Linked DNA regions of Homo sapiens: all the other regions are linked to region 2. Evidence: promoter capture Hi-C in 16 types of primary human blood cells and fetal thymus (Javierre and others, 2016). All regions are on one chromosome and are shown on one strand. The core of a region is centred on a gene start or on the middle of the fragment in contact, and the rest is flanking DNA. Distances in the headings are between cores, read along the strand shown.

The links. Contacts are between HindIII fragments. The CHiCAGO score rates a contact against its expected background, and 5 or more counts as called.
Region 1: a fragment that was not itself captured here is called in contact with the fragment with the promoter of TCTN1 in region 2 in 2 of 17 cell types (total B cells and naive B cells); the score reaches 14.1 in total B cells.
Region 3: a fragment that was not itself captured here is called in contact with the fragment with the promoter of TCTN1 in region 2 in 2 of 17 cell types (total B cells and naive B cells); the score reaches 10.8 in total B cells.

What each region holds. Positions count from the first base shown.
Region 1 is chr12:110,705,920-110,709,414 of GRCh38, forward strand. It overlaps a transcript of PPP1CC not described here. Among named protein-coding and RNA genes, the nearest start is that of HVCN1, 19 kb to the left of the region's middle. The HindIII fragment of the contact is 2,049 bases long and covers 334-2,382 here.
Region 2 is chr12:110,611,699-110,615,454 of GRCh38, forward strand. TCTN1 (tectonic family member 1) reads left to right here and starts at 2,431. Exons shown (of 15, transcript NM_001082538.3): 1 at 2,431-2,704. The coding sequence starts at 2,485. RefSeq lists an enhancer at 2,708-2,757. The HindIII fragment of the contact is 6,908 bases long and covers 1-3,756 here.
Region 3 is chr12:110,687,809-110,691,605 of GRCh38, forward strand. HVCN1 (hydrogen voltage gated channel 1) reads right to left here and starts at 1,307. Exons shown (of 8, transcript NM_032369.4): 1 at 1,272-1,307; 2 at 817-900. RefSeq lists enhancers at 1-205, 768-817, 2,068-2,117, 2,238-2,347, 2,878-3,027 and silencers at 998-1,497, 1,558-1,627. The HindIII fragment of the contact is 8,396 bases long and covers 1-3,797 here.

The sequences.
Region 1 (3,495 bases), core at 108-2,607, 93 kb after region 2:
CCAGCACTTTGGGAGGCCGAGGCAGGTGGATCATGAGGTCAGGAGATCAAGACCATCCTGGCTAACACGGTGAAACCATGTCTCTACTAAAAACACAAAAAATTAGCCAGGCGTGATGGAGGGCGCCTGTAGTCCCAGCTACTCGGGAGGCTGAGGCAGGAGAATGGCATGAACCTGGGAGGCGGAGCTTGCAGTGAGCCGAGATCGTGCCACTGCACTCCAGCCTGGGTGACAGCGAGACTCTGCCTCAAAAAAAAAAAAAAAAAAAAAAAAAGGAAAAAAAGAAATTACTTTTCCTTCAGTTTCCTAGTTGGCTCTGTGTTACTTCTGGAAAGCTTGTGGATCTCTGTGGAACAGAATTTCCTAACTGTGCTTTTAGCAAACTATCAGCTACATGATGGTAGGGGGATGGAGTTCTTGTTTTGTTGTTACTGTGTTTTACACCTTTCATCAGTGCTACCTGGATTTGGTGGCAGGAAATAGTCAAACAATAAAAATAATACCTAATATTTGCTGCCTATTATGTGTCTGGGTTCTTTCCATGTACTAATTTATTTAGTCTCAGAGTAACCATTGATATAGATGCTGCTATCCCTATTTTTTTATTATTATTATACTTTAAGTTCTAGGGTACATGTGCACAATGTGCAGGTTTGTTACATAGGTATACATGTGCCATGTTGGCTTGCTGCACCCATCAACTCGACATTTACATTAGGTATTTCTCCTAATGCTATCCCTCCCCCAACCCCCCACCCCCCGACAGGCCCCTGTGTGTGATGTTCCCCACCCTGTGTCCATGTGTTCTCATTGTTCAACTCCCACTTACGAGTGAGAACATGCAATGTTTGGTTTTCTGTTCCTGTGTTAGTTTGTTGAGAATGATGGTTTCCAGATTCATCCATGTCCCTTCAAAGGACATGAACTCATCCTTTTTATGGCTGCATAGCATTCCATGGTGTATATGTGCCACATTTTCTTAATCCAGTCTATCATTGATGAACATTTGGGTTGGTTCCAAGTCTTTGCTATTGGGAGTAGTGCTGCAGTAAACATATGTGTGCATGTGTCTTTATAGTAGAATGATTTATAATCCTTTGGGTATATACCCAGTAATGGGATCACTGGGTCAAATGGTATTTCTAGTTCTAGATCCTTGAGGAATCGCCACACTGTCTTCCACAATGGATGAACTAATTTACAGTCCCACCAACAGTGTAAAAGTGTTCCTATTTCTCCACATCCTCTCCAGCACCTGTTGTTTCCTCACTTTTTAATGATCGCAATTCTAACTGGTGTGAGATGGTATCTCATTGTGGTTTTGATTTGCATTTCTCTGATGACCAGTGATGATGAGCATTTTTCATGCGTCTGTTGGCTGCACAAATGTCTTCTTTTGAGAAGTGTCTGTTCATATCCTTTGCTCACTTTTTGATGGGGTTTTTTCTTGTAAATTTAAGTTCTTTGTAGATTCTGGATATTAGCCCTTTGTCAGATGGGTAGATTGCAAAAATTTTCTCCCATTCTGTAGGTTGCCTGTTCACGCTGATATTTTATTTTGCTGTGCAGAAGCTCTTTAGTTTAATTAGATCCCATTTGTCTATTTTGGCTTTTTTTGTTGCCATTGTTTTTGGTGTTTTAGTCATGAAGTCTTTGCCCATGCCTATGTCCTGAATGGTATTGTCTAGGTTTTCTTCTAGGGTTTGTATGGTTTTAGATCTTACACTGAAATATTTAATCCATCTTGAGGTAATTTTTGTATAAGGTGTAAGGAAGGGATCCAGTTTCAGCTTTCTGCATATGGCTAGCCAGTTTTCCCAGCACCATTTATTAAATAGGGAATCCTTTTCCCATTTCTTGTTTTTGTCAGGTTTGTCAAAGGTCAGATGGTTGTAAATGTGTGGTGTTATTTCTGAGGCCTCTGTTCTGTTCCATTGGTCTATATATCTGTTTTGGTACCAGTACCATGCTGTTTTGGTTACTATAACCTTGTAGCATAGCTTGAAGTCAGATGCTGCTATCCCTGTTTTACAAGGGAAGCACTGAGGCACAGGGAGATTAAGGGATTTGCCCAAGGTCACACACAACCAGAATGCAAGAGTCAGGATTCCCACCTGGGCCACTGGCTGCAAACCCCAGGCTTTAACCACTGCCCAGTATGGCCTCTCAAGAGAAGCAACAGCTTCCAGAAGCTGCCCCTGTGGGCTTCTGTAGACTGGGGTGCCAGTGTAACTAGCTACATGAATCCACCAACTCACTACAGAAAGGGGTACCCTGCTTCTGTAACAGCTAGGTTGAGCTGCATAGTTTGCAGAAAACCTTAGTATAGTTTTGAGTTAGTTTCCTACTTCTTTACAACAATTGGCTCTTAAAGGAATAGAAAGCTTAAATGGAATCTCACCCATCTATCTATATTGTTTAGAAACTATTAGCAACTCAGAAAGTTCTCTCATGGCTGAAAGATATATATGACTCCAATGTTTATTCATCAAAACAAACACATGCACAATGAAAATATTACAGTTATTACCAATGGGATCTCCATTACTCTTGGCAAAACAATTTTCTCCTGAGAATTCACAACCAGGATCTGCAGGTTTGTGGCCTAATTTCATGAGACTTGTATGATCTGAAAAATGTCAAGTGGGTCTGGGCATGGTGGCTTACACCTGTAATCCCAGCACTTTGGGAGGCCAAGGTAGGCAGATTACTTGAGGTCAGGAGCTCGAGAACAGCTTGGCCAACATGGTGAAACCCCGCCTTTACTAAAAGTACAAAAATTAGCCGGGCATGGTGGCAGACACCTGTAAATCCTGCTACTTGGGAGGCTGAGACAGGAAAATTGCTTGAATCTGGGGTGGAGGTTGCAGTCAGTGAGCTGAGATCGCACCACTGCACTCCAGCTTGGGTGACAGAGCGAGAGTCCATCTCAAAAAAAAAAAAAAAAAAGAAAAGAAAAGAAAAATGTCAAGTGAGCAAGTGAGGATTTAAAGTCTAGGTTGATACTGCCCCAGTCTACCAGCAGAGGCAAACTCTGATCTTCTCTGGAGGAGCTCAACTTCAATTCAGGCCGCAGAGAATCCCATGGATAAAGATGTGAAGAAAATGGGCAACTCTGTCAAAAAATCACAACACACACAGAGAAACAACTATGAGGAACAATAGAAACAACAGATGATAGAAACATTCAGAAGAATGGCAAAACCCCCCACAAAAACACACAAATGATAGATACAAACCCACAAACACTTCAGATATTGGAATAATCAGATAGAACATAAAATAACCATGTTTATTATATTTAGAGAAATAAAACTTTTTTTTTTTTGAGACAGAGTCTCCCTCTGTTGCCCAGGCTGGAGTGCAGTATCGCGATCCCGGCTGACTACAACCTCCACCTCCCGGGTTCAAGCAGTTCTCTGCCTCAGCCTCCCGAGTAGCTGGGATTACAGGCATGTGCCACCATGCCTGACTAATTTTTTGTATTTTTAGTAG
Region 2 (3,756 bases), core at 1,181-3,680:
GAAAATAGAACAAAATGGTTCACAGGTATTAAGGAATAGGAAAGAAAGTAGAGGGCTGGAAGTAAAGAGGTTTAAAAAGGAAAACAAACAGGCCCTGGTTTTAGAAGTTATGAGATGAAGGTTTGGAAAATATACTTTTTTTTTTTTTTTGAGACGGAGTCTCGCTGTGTCACCAGGCTGGAGTGCAGCGGTGTGATCTCGACTCACTGCAACCTCTGCCTCCCAGGTTCAAGCAGTTATCCCGCCTCAGCCTCCTGAGTAGCTGGGACTACAGGTGCCCACCACCATGCTCAGCTAATTTTTGTATTTTTAGTAAAGACGGGGTTTCACCATGTTGGCCAGGGTGGTCTTGATCTCTTGACCTCGTGATCCACCCGCCTCAGCCTCCCAAAGTGCTGGGATTACAGGCGTGAGCCACCATGCCCGGCCTACTTTTGGTTATTTTTTTTAAAAGGGGAAGCATTTAATCAGTTATTAAAAGCAGTCCAGAATTTCAGTCAGATGCTAAAGCAATCCTTTGCAGAAAAAAAGAAGTATCTGTCTTACACATTTGAGTGATTCAATTATATTTTTATACACTGTCTCTGGAATGCCACAGGAAGGTGCTAAAGATATCACTTTGATGATTTAGTTTTGCTAAATACATTTAATAAACTAGATATATATACTGTTTGACATCCTTTTGAATTGGTATATACATTTCTTGAATAAATACTGTGTTATGTTTAAGGTTTTTTTGTTTTGGAGTGCAGTGGCACTATCATGGCTTACTGCAGCCTCAAGCTCTCCAGACTGAGGCGATCCTTCCACCTCAGCCTCCTGAGTAGCTGGGACTACAGGAATGTGCCACCATACCTGGCTAATTTTTGTATTTTTTGTAGAGATGTGGTTTCACCATGTTGCCCAGGCTGGTCTCAACTCCTGGACTCAAGCGATCCTCCCAAAGGGCTGGGAGTACAGGTGTGAGCCACTGTGCCTGGCCACGTCTAAGTACTTCGACATCTACTTCTGAACTGTATGGAGATTAAGTGTCAAAGGTGCAGCCAACATTCTTGGGCTTGGGTACCTCCTAAATAAGCCCATTCAGAATGGAGAGGGTTTCCTAAATCGTAGGGTCTCCAGGTCGTTTTGTAGCATTACAGTGGATTTGCTTTGTTTTCCCCTTTAAGATGTCTAAATTATTTTACTTAATTTTTGTAAAAGATTTTTGTCTTTAAATAGGTTCTTAGGCCTGGCGTGGTGGCTCATGCCTGTAATCCTAGCTCTTTGGGAGGCTGAGGCGGGAGGATCACTTGAGGCCAGGAGTTTGTGACTAGCCTGATCAACATAGTGAGACCCCCTCTCTACAAAAAATAATAAAAGGTATTAAGTGTTCATTTGTCCCCTTTATCACAATACAGCAGACAGAAGTTATCTGGCAACCTTGTGAGATGCAGCTAAAATAAAAAGGTGAAGCCAGTGTTGACAGAGTCTGGGATAGAGAAAATTCAGAGACAGTGATCTCACAGATCCCTGTGCTCCTTCCAAACACCCACGTTAGTGGCGTTGGGACGGCGCTTCCTAAATTTCCGTCCAACTCATCTGCTTGCGTCCGGACATTTGTTAAAAATATTTATTCCTGGCTGGGAGTGGTGGCTCACGCCTGTAATCCCAACTACTCAGGACTCAGGAGGCTGGAGCAGGTGGATCACTTGAACCAGGAGTTCGATACCAGTCCGGGCGACGGAGGGAGACCTCGTCTTTACAAAAAAAAAAAAAAAAAAAAAAAAATACAAAAATTAGCTGGGTATGGTGGCGCGCGCCTGAGTTCCCAGCTACTCAGGAGGCTGAAGTGGGAGGATTGCTTGAGTCCCAGAGGTCGAGGCTGCAGTGAGCCGAGATCGCGCTACTGCACTCCAGCCTGGGCGACAGAGTGAGACCCTGTCTCAAAAAAAATCCCCCAAAAACTGATTCCTGGGTCCTGCCCTAGACTAACTGACTCAGGATCTCCTGAGGTGGTACCTGGAAATCCGTCTTTTTTTTTTTTTTTTTTTTTTTTGGTTGAGACAGAGTGTCACACTGTCGCCCAGGCTGGAGTGCAGTGGCACGCTCACGGCTCTCTGTAGCCTTCACCTCCCGGGTTCAAGCGATTCTTCTGCCTCAGCCTCCCGAGTAGCTGGAACTACAGAAAATCTGCATTTTTTAAGCAAGCGCCGCGGACCGGTTGGAAACCACAGCCGGGATTTACACGCCCCTCGTTTACGCCAGCTTCACACCCGCTCACTAGTGCTCGCCCCTGTGCCTGCCATCGCTGCCTCACCCAGGCGCCGCCCTCCGGCCTCATCCGGGATCCGCCCCCTGCCTCATCCAGGCTTCGCCCCAGTCAGTCTCCGGCAGCTTCTCGCGGCTTCGCAAGCCCCTTCCCGTGATGCCCCGCGCCTGGCTGTCGCGGTTGCCGGGCAACGCGCTGTCCATGTCGCGGGCCTCGCTGGGACTCCCTGGGAGATGAGGCCGCGAGGTCTCCCGCCGCTCCTGGTGGTGCTCCTGGGCTGCTGGGCCTCCGTGAGCGCCCAGACCGATGCCACCCCGGCGGTGACGACAGAGGGCCTCAACTCCACCGAGGCAGCCCTGGCCACCTTCGGAACTTTCCCGTCGACCAGGCCCCCCGGGACTCCCAGGGCTCCAGGGCCCTCCTCCGGCCCCAGGCCTACCCCAGTCACGGACGGTGGGTACCATGTGCCAGCTCCTGGAGTCCACAGTGATCCAACCTCAAGGGGACAGCCCCGGTGAGGACGTAATAATGATAGCTAACTCTTATTGAGCACTTACTGTGTGCAGACACTGCTGAGTGTTCCATAAACGTCCATTCTCTAAACAATAACCCTGAGAAGTAGCTGTTACTATCACTGTCAGGTAAATGAGAAAACCGGGTCTCAGAGTTTAAGTGGAACGGTATCAAACCTTTGAAAATACTTGAAGTGGTCCCAGACAACAGTGATGCAAAGAGCAATAATGAATTCTTGCAGCCCAAGACGAAATTAAGTCGAGACAATGGTGGAAATTAGTGCCTTGGCTGCACTGAACTTTCACTTAAAGAGAGGCCAAAGGTCTATCTTACTAAATGTGACTATGTTAAGACCCTTCTCTGTTGACCTGAATTCTAAAAACCCAGGATTCCTCCTGTGTTGAATTGGAGGTGGAAAGCTATTGAGGGAGGGGTTATGCTCACTTCTTAGGAGTCATATGTAGGGATAATTAACATTTTTTTCAGAAAATGATTAATTCTAGAATTACACATTTAGTGGAAATATTTTATAATCTAATTTGACGTTTGGCTGGCGCCGTGGCTCACGCCTGTAATCCCAGCACTTTGGGAGGTCAACTCGGGTGGATTGCTTGAGGTAGGAGTTCAAGATCAGTCTGGTCAAAATGGCGAAACCCAGTCTCTACTAAAAATAGAAAAAATAGCCGGGCATGGTGTAATCCTAGCTACTCGGGAGGCTGAGGCAGGAGACTCGCTTGAACCCAGGAGGCAGAGGTTGCAGTAATTACCACTGCACTCCAGACTGGGCGACAGAGCAAGACTGTCTCAAAAAAAAAAATTGACATGGATGACTTCACTGAATGACTGTGACCCGCTAAGATTGAGTGCAAAACTTTGTGAATATGCCTTTTCCTGAGATGAGAGTTCATAGCAGCCGATTCTTAAAGTGGTTCATGATCTCAAAAAAAGTTTTTAAAATTTTCCGATTGTGTGAATTGAGAGTAACCCCAATA
Region 3 (3,797 bases), core at 600-3,099, 76 kb after region 2:
AAGAACACTCTGGCTTTCTCCTTCTTGCTAAACCTGTGTCGGGGAGGGCAGGGGCCACAGAGCAGCTCTGGACCTTGTGCAAGCCTCAGCCCAGAGATTTTCAAAACCCTGCCCTTATCAGCCTTTCCCTCTGGGGAGTCAGCCAGAGAAGTTGCCACCCCCTCACCTTGGTCTTACTCAAGCAGCTCCTAGTTGCTGGTGGGGCTGTCCGGAAATCCTGCAGATCTCAGATAGCCCTGAACAACCTGAAGTTAAAGGTGCCCAGGACAGAGAAGTACTCTCAGAGGGGCAGGACGGAGGGTGGAGGAAGCACTGGAACCATGAACTTTTGGTAGTAACCTGGTGCCAGGGGCTAAGCCTGTACACCAAGCATCTTATATCATCTTCTCAGCAATCCTGCGAGGTAGGTACATGCTTAACCTCATGGGACAGATGCGGAAACTGAGGCAGAGACAGGCCAAGTCACGAAGCTGAGCCTGCAAGATCCCCCACACCCAGCACTGGTAAAAGTGGTGGGGGCAATGTTGGAGGGAGTTCCACTGAGGAACTGCTCTCCCCTCTCTGTCTTGGCGTTTACCCTGGCCCCAATCACTCTTGTTCCTCAGCATCTCTGTCTCCAACAGGTGGGTGCTTTTAAAGTGTTTCTAGGGAAGAGTTTGCTTCCCCGGGGCTCCTCCTTCAGGGATGGCTGGGCCTGCTCATTGCAGCCTTCTCCCGGGACATCCAGCACTGCCTCTGCCCCTGCTTCTCTCCTACAATCTCCCGGGAGGGCAGCGGGGCAGGGACGATGCATCCGAGGACTTAGGGGACACAGACCTGGTTGTGAGTTCTGGCTCTGCCTCCTTTGGCTGTGTGACCCAAGGCAAGGGGCTTGGCCTCTCTGCGTCTTGGTTTCTTCACCTGTTAAGAGGGAGACGACGATGGTCACCTGTGGCTGCTGCGCGGAGTGTGAAGAACTGAAGGCACCTGGCCCAGGGCGGCGCGCACCACCAACTCTCCGGGATCGGGGGGTCACTAGGGCCAGCGTCTCCCGCGTTCCCCTCCCCTGGACTCCAGTCCCTGCCGAGGGGAAGCACTGCCCGCCCGCGCCGGGACACGCCAGAGCCGAGGGCAACCGAGGGCTGGGGTCCTGCTGGGGCTCCACGGCGAGGCCTGGACAGCGGAGATGCGGGGGGGGGTCCCCTCTTCTCGGAAGGATCGGGCACTGGGGGTCTTGTAGAAAGGGCTGCACGCCAAACGGGGTACGCCCCCCGCCCGGCCCGAGCACTTACCCGGCGCCCCACCCGCCCGCGGTCACCGCTGCGACTGGGAGCCTCAGAGCAGGTCCGGCCCAGCCCGTCCCGCCCCGTACCGTACCAGGCCCCGCCCCCGCCCGGGCCGCCCCCGCCCCCGTCCCCGCCCCCACAGCCCGCAGACCCCCAACGGTCGGCGGGCTTCTAGGCCTCGGCCCGGGTCTTAGTCCCCTTGTCCCTGCCTGTGGTCAGTCCACCCGTTCGTCCCTACCTCCCTCACCCCGGCTGCCTCCCGCCCCGCAGGGTGGGCCTGTCCTGGGCCTCCCGCAGTTACAAAGGTCCCGCCCGTGGGAGCGAATCGCGGATCACAAAAATCCTGCCCCGGGCCAGCCTAAGGGAAGGGTGGGCGGGGGAACCACTTCCTTCCTCCGCCGGCTGGAGCGGGGCGAATCCACCCCGCCAACCCCTTTCGGGGAGCTTCTGCTCCATCCCACCGTCTCCGGGCCACCCCTGCCTCTGGGTCTCCTGATTCCTTGGCCTCGTCCCCTGCACAGTTTCTGCCATGCAGGGGTGGAGGGTGGGCAGCACGCTCTGACGAATGAGCAACCTCTCAGCCCTCAGAACTTCCCTTGGTCGAGGGCTCTGAGGCTGCTCATGGGATGGTACTGGCAAGAGGGAGCCTTACCGCGTGCAGCCCCTGCCTGTCCTGGGCCGCCTTGCTCCGGGCCAACTCGTACGGCCCCGCAGGCGCAGGCCCAGCTCTGAAGTCCCTCCCCTGTGGGCCCTCCCAGCACCCTGTTCACACAGTCGAATCAGTTCTGTTAGCTTCTGTCTTCCCCCAGAGACCATTTGTCCCAAACATCCTGCAAAGCCGTCTTCTGCACACCTCTCCCTTCCGGTTGAGTCGGGGCTGTGGGGAGAGGCTCACCTCCTTGGGGTTGTGTTAGTTTCCTCATGCCGCTGTTAACAGATCACCACAAACCTAGTGGCTTAACACAAATGTGTTATCTTACAGCCCTGGAGGCCAGAAGTCTCAGATGGGTCCTACAGGGCCAGAATCAAGGTGTGGGTGGGGCTGTGCCTTCTGGAGGCGCCAGGGTAGTGTGTTCCTTGCTTTTCCCGGCTGGAGAGGTGCCTGTGATCCTTGGCTGTCTCAATCCGACCTCTGCCTCCATGGTCACAGCGTCTTCTCCCTTCTAAGGAGCCCTGTGATTATATGGGATCCACCTGGATAATCCAGGCTAATCTCTCCAGCTCAGGATCCTTCACATAGCCACATGTGCAAAGTCCCCTTTGCCACTTAAGGCAACATACAGGTTTGGAGGGGTTAGGATGTGGATATCTTGGTAGGGGGGTGCATTCTTCTGCCTCCCATAGGGGTATTGTCTGCTTCAACTGACTCGGCTTTCCCCAATTCTGCTGGGCAGCTGGCTTTCTTTTCTTTTTTCTTTTTTTTGGAACGGAGTCTCACTGTCGTCCAGCCTGGAGTGCAGTGGTGCGATCTTGGCTTACTGCAACCTCCGCCTCCTGGGTTCAAGCAATTCTCCTGCCTCAAGCCTCCCGAGTAGCTATGATTACAGGCCAGCATCACCATGCCTGACTAATTTTTGTATTTTTAGTAGAGACGGGGTTTTACCATGTGGGTCAGACTGGTCTCGAACTCCTGACCTCAAGTGATCTGCCTGCCTTGGCCTCCGAAGGTGCTGGGATTACAGGTGTGAGCCACTCCACCCGGCAACAGTCTCACTCTGTGGCCCAGGCTGGGGTGCAATGGCATGATCTTGGCTCAGTGCAACCTCTGCCTCCTGAGTTCAAGCAATTCTCCTGCCTCAGCTTCCTGAGTAGCTGGGATTACAGGTGCCTGCCACCACGCCTGGCTAATTTTTGTTTTTTTAGTAGAGACAGGGTTTCTCCATGCTGGTCAGGCTGGTCTCGAACTTCTGACCTCAAGTGATCCGCCTGCCTCGGCCTCCCAAAGTGCTGGGATTACAGGCGTGAAACACCATGCCTGGACTGCAGCAGGCTTTCTTTTTTCTTTTTGAGGTGGAGTCGCGCTCTGTCACCCAGGCTGGAGTGCAGTGGCGCGACCTCGGCTCACTGCAAGCTCCGCCTCCCAGGTTCATGCCATTCTCCTGCCCCAGCCTCCTGAGTAGCTGGGACTACAGGCGCCCGCCACCACGCTCGGTTAAATGTTTTGTATTTTTAGTAGAGACGGGGTTTCACCGTGTTAACCAGGATGGTCTCGATCTCCTGACCTCGTGCTCCGTCCTCCTCGGCCTCCCAAAGTGCTGGGATTACAGGCGTGAGCCACCGCGTCTGGCCAGAAGGCTTTCTTAAAAACATTTTGGTCAGATCTCCTGACTTCTCAGTCATGTATTATTACAACAGCCCCATGCCAGTTTCTAAGGCATAGTCTGGTCCATTTTCAACTTCAACTTCCTTATATTTTATTAAAAATTCTCCTCCTCCCCCAGGGCCAGCTAGACAGAGTGGAGAGGATGTGGGGACTGCTCCCAACAGCCCCTCCTCTGTGTTCACTCCCCTCTGGTTGAGGAAGGGAAAAGG